Linked DNA regions of Homo sapiens: region 1 is linked to region 2. The links are contacts of gene promoters, found by promoter capture Hi-C in human tissues and cell types (Jung and others, 2019). All regions are on one chromosome and are shown on one strand. The core of a region is centred on a gene start or on the middle of the fragment in contact, and the rest is flanking DNA. Distances in the headings are between cores, read along the strand shown. Region 1 overlaps FSIP1 (fibrous sheath interacting protein 1). Region 2 holds the start of EIF2AK4 (eukaryotic translation initiation factor 2 alpha kinase 4).

Region 1 (3,895 bases), core at 102-2,601, 320 kb before region 2:
CTGGGAGAAGGGTTATGGCATTGGTCCAGTTGAAGTTGTAGGAAGAGAAAGGAAGGGATGGGCATGAGAGACACCGCAGGAATAGAACAAACAACACCTGAACACTGGAAGTGGGAAGCAAGAAAGAGAAGTAATTCAGTGATGACTCAGATTTTGCTCCTGGGTGACTAAGGAAATGGAAGTCAAAACCGAAATCTGACTCAGTTCAGAGTTAATGGATTATAGATTTAATAAGGAATAGATTAATAGATAGAAATGTAATAGCCAATATATTTTAGAGTAATCTACAATAGAGGTAAAAATTGAATCTATTTAAATAGATTCACCAATTGTTACACAGATTTCTAACATAAATAATTGAATATTTGTTTGTGTCGAAAACTAGTTATTGTTGTATCCTGTACCATGACCATTGCAAGATGAAACACTAGATCGTGACGAAACACCTGAGAACATAGGAGTGGCTCAGGAGAGGAGGTTTGCATACAGAAACTAATATAACCACAATGAGTTACAAGTTTTACATTTTAAATTCATTCCTTAGAACAAATTTTCATCACTAAAGTTTGAAAATACTAAAGTTTGAAGTTGAAATACTAAGCAAATCTATTCAAAGTATTTCTCTCCATTCAAACTAATTTCTCTTTTCCTGTGAAACCAACATTATTTTCTGGATGACACAATTAATTACCATCAAGAATAACGTATTTCATAGAGTACTAACCTCAACTTTGATTTCATAAGAGCATTGGGAAATAGGTTTTATGTTTGCATACTCTTATTGACGCTACCTGTGACTTACAAACATACCTTCTTACCCGACTCTAATTTAAACCATAATACCTTTATATTGAGGTGCTTTTAAGAATTATTTACCAAAACACATGTTCGCCAAGCCTCACCTGCTATTGTATTCTCTGGAGAACTGAGTTTCAGATGTTGGTCTTCTGATGAAAGGCTCACACTGATACCATACAGTGGATCATCTAAGAAGGAGGGCCTTTTCAGTCTCCCAATGCCAAGAGTCTTCGACATAAAATAGTCTTTTGTGTCACTAATAATAACGTCCTTGGAAAATTGAAGGCATTTCATATTCTCTGCTTCAGTGACAAGAGCTTCTGACATGTTATGTCCAGTCAAGGCTTTAGTGAGATAGTAGCCTTTAGAAGCTTCACATTCTTCACTCTCAAGCATATCTGCATCTTCTACCTCAGTTTTCTGGACCTTTGTTTCTGATTCATTTAGCAATTTAGAGATGATGGACCTGGAAAGCTGGGGGAACACAGGTGTTACGTCCTCAATGTCTTCCTTTTTTCTTTCTGAAGAAAGTTTAATGATGGATTTTTGTTTAAGTATGCATTCATCCAGAAGACACTTTAACTGTTCTTCAGAGAGACATGATGTGGACTCTAACTGATGAAACAAACCAAAAGATTACATAGTCAGTTGACTGAGTAAACACATTTATTTTTGGTAGGCATCCAGTAATACAAATATAAATGCAAGTAACCCCTTACACAACACATAAAAATAGAAAAATAATTCATTGTAAAGTATCCAAAACTGTAGGGGAAATGTCATAATCCTGGCAAAATCTTTGGTTGGTGTTTCTCTGACCCCACCCATCCCTCAGCATGAATCCCACCACCATCCAATTCCTTACTGGGAAAAAAATTGGCATACAAGGCAGACTACCCCTACCTCTGGGGATTCAGCACTCCCATGTCTGTCCACAACTATCAGTGGACAATACTGCTGAAGACAGAAAAGGAAGGGTGAAGGGTGGTGCATCCTGCAATGTGTCGTTGCTGCAAAGCTACAGGTCTAGGCAGAGGCCAGGGGCATTCCAGAGGCGGTGTATTTGGGGAGAATGATTTGATCATGCATACTTAATCTCTGCTTGTAAAGGTTACCAGGGCTAAGTGTTTCAACCAAGACCTTAAATATTTAAAAACATTTTTTTTCTTTCAGCAATATTCTCAGGAAATAAATTTTTAAAAATCAAATGAAAGTAGAGAGCCATGTCCCACAAGACTTCAGCTGAATACCATAACATTTGAGTTGCAACAATCTCAAAAAGGAATGAGATTAAAATATAGTGAAACACACTGAAAAAAAAATGTCTACTTCCCCAAAAAATCAGTGTCTTCCATGGTTTACATGTGGATTATCTAGGAAAAGACTAATCCTCCTTTACAGGGGGATGAATTATCTGAGAACAAGAAGTCCCCATAAGAAAACTTAATCATGAATTTCAATGACTTTAATTTCTACTTCAGCAAAGTAAAATAATGTTATTGGCCTACTCTGAAGGTACATAGTAAAAAATAACTAAATATTCTGCATATGTAAAGTACTGAAATAAAAAGCTATTACTGATACTAGTATAGTTAATTCTCCACTATTAGGTAAAGCTTCTAATGCAACTAATAAATACTAATATGTAAAACAATTTTGTGCCATGTTTAAAAAATATTGTTTAAAATTATGTTTAACTTACCTATATTAAAACTAGTTTTTACAGTGGCAAGTGTCACTATGAGTATGAGGATAATAAGAAATTGTCTGGAAATATATTCTTAGTAATTATTTGGAATTCAAAATTCAGGTGACTGACCCTAAGGTTAATATACATGTCAAGAAATAGGATTTGAGATTTGGAATTCAAAATTCAGGTGACTGACCCTAAGGTTAATATATATGGCAAGAAATAGGATTAGAATTATGTATTAGCAAATTCTACTTTTAGTCACTAGGCATTTCAGGAATCCAGATATAGTATTTTATCCATCTGTATCCAGAATCAGGAGCATTATCTCCACCCTACTATGGAAACCTAGTCAAGTAGAAAATGAAGGAAGTCCTTCTATGACATTAGATACCTAAAACACACTTTCAAACTTTGCTTATGTAAAATTACATATAATGTGTAGACAATTCCCTACGATTTAGAAAGAGCCCGCTGAGTGTCATCCTTACCAAACATCCTCATCAAAGCCTTATTATGATGAAATTTTTAGACACTAGAAAAAAAATCAGTCCATATTAGAGCAGGAGGAGGTCTCTAGGGAAAAAAGGGTAGGAGGGAGGATTGGTAGATTATCCAATATGCTTGACCATTTCCAAAAGTAATATTGATATGATAGATGTTTGGCAGTTCTGATGATGTATTTGGCTAAATACACAGAAAATGAAGCAGAAGGAAAATCAAAGCAATTATGAACTCTGGGGAAAACAAAAAGTTTTACAAAAAAAAGGAAAAGCAGTGACATATACACAGAAAATTAGGCAAAAGAAACTAAGATAATTATGAAGTCTAGGACAAACAAAAAGTTACATGAGAAAGGATGCCATAGGCTAATAATTGCTTCTGCTGTGAATAATATTTACACAGTCAATGATAATATAAATACTGATGACTAAGGTAAGCAAAAATTGTGACTTAACTATTTTGGGGAAATGTGACGAGAAACAAGGGGTGTTTGCACTTTATTAGTTAAATTATTGCCTACCATTACAGCAACCCAATATATAATGTCTAAAACTAATCAATTAAGAAAGTAAGTTATTAATAAATAATATAGAGGTAAAATTAGGAAAAACACAAAAGATTTAAAAGCAGTTAACTGGAGAAAATATCAAGGGGTAGGGAAGGCTGAGGCAAGGGGCTGCCATTTTTATTTAAAACATTTTAACACAATTTTTTCTTTATTACTATAACAAAAGTTAAAATTAAATATAAAAATAAAAGTAATTTAAATGTATTCTTTTTTTTTTGACATGGAGTCTTGCTCTGTCGCGCAGGCTGGAGTGCAGTGGCGCAATCGTGGCTCACTGCAACCTCTGCTTCCTGGGTTCAAGCGAGTCTCGTGTCTCAGCCTCCCCGGTAGCTGGA
Region 2 (4,306 bases), core at 328-2,827:
ATGGAGTAATTTTAAGGATTAGAGTGCAATGGCCATATTTGCAATTTAGAAACATTACTCTGGCTGCAATAGGAAGAATGGCTTAATGTGGGGCAAGAATGAAGACAGTGACTAATTAAGAGAGTTATTGAAGTAACCCAGGGAATTGGTGACAGTAGCCTGAACTAAGTTAGTGGCAATGGGTTAGAGTGTAGTGGATGGACAGAAGTGGTGACTATTTGGATGTGAGTTGAGAGAAAGGGAATTCAGAATCACACTCAGTTGAATGGTGCCATTTACCTAGTCAGAGATCACTGGAGAAGGAACGGGTCTCCAGCAGAGGGAAGATGATGATTTAAATTGGCCTTGGGTCAAGCTAGTGCATTTGTGTTATCTGGCCAGAAATGAGTGGATAGATGGCAGCAAGGAATTTACACAATCATTATTTAGTGAACAGTGGAGGAGTAAGCAAGGTAGACAGAAGAAACGTCACTTAAACCTAACTTGGGTTAGTACAATAGGATTATTCGAAATGGACATGCAGCATTAGTAAGTTACTGAAGATGAAGTGCAATAACAATGTCTGGGTAGACAGGTTATTATTTTATAAACTTGAAAAACGACGACTTGAGGCAGGATATAACACAAAGACTCCCTAAATTCACACTGAGTGAACTGGGAAGGGAACATGATTCTCTTCATGGGAAGGTAGCTCATAAAGATGCCTGAGTGGAAAGACAGTTTTCAATTGAATTTGCAAGGTGGTAGTGGAGATCCCCAAAGCTGGGGAATGTAGAGACAGAGAACATAATGAGGGTGTTGAATCTGTGGCTCAGAGAATAAGTTTGGGGGTACTAAAGTGGGAGGAAGGAGGGTGGGGGGGGTCACAATTTTTACTCCCGGTAGTCTTGTTCTGGGAAGGTACAAGGTGAAATTAGAAGTGACCTCAGAACCCATCGACGTCTGCCCTTTAAGAGTTTCCCGGCCGGGCGCGGTGGCTCATGCCTGTAATCCCAGCACTTTGGAAGGCCGAGGCGGGCGGATCACAAGGTCAGGAGATCGAGAACATCTTGGCCAACATGGTGAAACACCATCTCTACTAAAAATAGAAAAATTAGCCGGGCGTGGTGGTGCGCGCCTGTAGTCCCAGCTACTCTGGAGGCTGACGCAGGAGAATCGCGTGAACCCGGCAGGCGGAAGTTGCAGTGAGCCGAGATCGCGCCACTGCACTCCAGCCTGGGGAACAAGAGCCGAAACTCTGCCAAAAAAAAGAAAAAAGAGTTTCCCGCACTAGCCATGCCAGGGTGGAGAAGTTCCAGCAAGCACTTCTGTTAAAGATACTTGTTTCGTGAAAACTATACAATGTGGCGTTTTCATTCCTATCTGTGATTCATTTCTTAAGTTCGTGGAGTTCCTTTGCTCCCCTTCCCCCAGCAGGATGTGGGCAAAGCTGTCCCCCTGCCTTCTTCCTTCGCCTGGGCTTCTGGAGCCTCCGGAGCTAGCTCCCGGCGCGGAGCTCCGCCTACGGCCCGTCCCCGGCGCGGAACCCCGCCCACGAGCCCGTTTCCAGCGTGGAACACCGCCCATAGCCCGTCCCCAGCGCGGAGCCCCGCCCCGCAGGCTGCCGGGGGCCCACCGCCGCCCAGGCAAGGCCGCCCTGCCTTGGGCGCAGCGCTGCCATGGCTGGGGGCCGTGGGGCCCCCGGGCGCGGCCGGGACGAGCCTCCGGAGAGCTACCCGCAACGACAGGACCACGAGCTACAGGCCCTGGAGGCCATTTACGGCGCGGACTTCCAAGACCTGCGGCCGGACGCTTGCGGACCGGTAGGAACGTGGCTTGTCAGGCCCGGGCTGGCGTGCCCTGGCCTCCCCGGGCCCTGGGCCAAAGCCCGGACACTTCCAGATTGGGCCGCCGCTTTAGGATCCTGCAGTCTTTTCATCCCTTAGGTTCCACCCATGCTCACTTTAGTCCTTGCACCTGCAGCTGGTCTGCAGAATCCCACCTAGGCCGAATTCTTCTACAGTCCTTTCCCCATGATTTCCCCAGAGGAATCCCCCTGGATTCCTCCCTCTTACCTGGCACTGCTTCTTATTCCTGCCTACATCCCATAACATAACTGCCTCCTTCCAACCTTGTCCTTTTTCCCCTCTGAAAGCCCTTGCGGATGATACCACAGCAATTCATACGCGCCCCTTGCTACTTTGTTCTGAGAACGCTTTTTGGGCTCTCGCACAGGCCTTACGTCCTCAATCAGAATTCTCAAGTCTCATCCATGCATTCAAATCTGCACGCCACATAATTCCCTCTGTACTCCCCAGGCATCCTCACTGTGTTTTCCGGTATGGAGGAACTTTCCATACCTCTGCACCTTCCTCTAAGACATTTAGCTCAGAATAAAGCACACATTCATCTTAGCTGTAGTAGAGAGAGGGTTCTAGACTGAGTCTAGAGAAGGAGTGTCCAATCTTTTGGCTTCCCTGGGCCACACACAAAATACACTAACACTAAGGATAGCTGATGACCTAAAAGAAAAAAAAAATTCGCAAAAAAACCTCAATGTTTTAAGAAAGTTTACGAATGCGTGTTGGGCCACATTCAAAGCGGCCCATGGGCCTCGGGTTAGACCAGCTTGCTCTAGCTCTAGACCTTTTAAAATGGCATTTTGTTTAAAATAATATTTTGCCTTTTTGTCTGGAAATTAAGGCACGTTATAAAGTATTTATACTGACAGTTTTTTCCCCATCCTTGAAGAGTTGATCTACCAAACTATTTCTGAATATTATCATATTATCATTTAAAACATAGTTCTAACTTCATCTGCTTTTTTTTTTTTTCTTTTTGAGACAGGGTCTTGCTCTGTCTCCCAAGCTGGAGTGCAGAGGCATGACCACGGCTCACTGCAGCTTATTCTCAAGCAATCCTTCTGCCTCAGCCTGTCAAGTACCTGGGACTACAGGCACATGCCACTACACCTGGTTAATTTTTTTAATTTTTTGTAGAGACAGAGTCTTGCTCTGTTGCCCGGGCTGGTATCAAGTTCCTGAGCTCATGCAATCCTCTCACCTTGGCCTCTGAAAGTGCTGGGATTACAGGTGTGGGCCACCGCGCCTGGCCTCTTCATCTGCTTTTAACTTTGGCATTTCACAACATCTGCTCTATCTACACATCCAGGATTTCCTCAAGAAATACCATCTTCTGGAGCTATCAGGACAAAATATTCTCTCTCAAACTCAGGGTGCTTCTTCCTTCATTAAATATTTGTTTTAGGCATTAGGAATACAGCTGTGGGCAAAACAGACAAAAATCCTTGCCCTCAGGGAGCTTACTTTTCTAATGCTTAATAATATGAAGTTATTTTTAACCTGAAATGGTAAAAATATAAATTATTCCCCTTAACATGACAGAGAAGTTGGTGACTGGGGAACTTCTATCTTCCCAAACCTTGAGAATCAGGAAGTAGGCCCAAGAAGCAGCCAAAATAGGTGTCTCAAAGTGTACATGGGACTCAACACAAAGCTCCTAAGGCTTCATTCTGAACTAGTTTGTTTACTTTATACAAGCTTAGTTGTCTGCTCCTAGGGCTGCAGAAAAATGGAAGAGAAAAAGCAACTTCTTTTAGGTAGGGATATTGATAACCTCAAGAATTTATAGCTGGTGGCTTTCATAACAAGATGGAATACTAGACAAACCAAAGCAAAAACTATAGAAGGCAGGCAGAAGAATTTAAATAGCTGTCTGTGGCCTATTGTACACCGGGCAAATGGCCTCAACACATTCATAGGACTGGCAGGCAAATAATTGATGGTCTCAAGGATGAATCAGAGTTTAGTCATTCAACAAGCACTTATTATCACCTGCTATTTGCCAGGGAAAAGTGATGCAGGTCCAAAATCCTTTATCCAAAACTCTTTATTGAGAGGGAGTTTCTCTCTGTCGCCCGGGCTGGAGTGCGGTGGAGCAATCTCGGCTCACTGCAACCTCCACCTCCCAGGTTCAAGCGATTCTTGTGCCTCAGCCTCCTGAGCAGCTGGGATTACAGGTACCCGCCTCCACACCTGGCTAATTTTTGTATTTTTAGTAGAGATGGAGTTTCATTATGTTGGCCAGGCTGGTCTCGAATTCCTGACCTCAAGTCCTCCCGCCTCGCCTCCCAAAGTCCTGGGATTACAGGTGTGAGCCACCGTGCCCAGCCTTTTATCCAAAACTCTTGAGACTTGATGGGTTTCAGAATTCAGAAGTGCTTCTGTTCACGTTTATGTGTGCACATTCCACACATTACCTAATACCTTCCTCAGTGTCTGGGGCAGCATCGAAAATCAAACACAAT

The links. Contacts are between HindIII fragments. The study calls those that stand out against the background at their distance.
Region 1: a contact is called between a fragment that was not itself captured here and the fragment with the promoter of EIF2AK4 in region 2, in 1 of the 25 tissues and cell types used here (IMR-90 fibroblasts).

Annotation. Positions count from the first base shown.
Region 1 is chr15:39,616,833-39,620,727 of GRCh38, forward strand. It overlaps FSIP1 (fibrous sheath interacting protein 1), which reads right to left. Exons shown (of 12, transcript NM_152597.5): 11 at 903-1,413. Among named protein-coding and RNA genes, the nearest start is that of THBS1-IT1, 33 kb to the left of the region's middle. RefSeq lists an enhancer at 502-1,701. The HindIII fragment of the contact is 4,351 bases long and covers 1-3,527 here.
Region 2 is chr15:39,932,538-39,936,843 of GRCh38, forward strand. It overlaps EIF2AK4 (eukaryotic translation initiation factor 2 alpha kinase 4), which reads left to right and starts at 1,578. Exons shown (of 39, transcript NM_001013703.4): 1 at 1,578-1,802. The coding sequence starts at 1,659. RefSeq lists an enhancer at 1,291-1,430 and a silencer at 1,451-1,860. The HindIII fragment of the contact is 10,364 bases long and covers 1-4,306 here.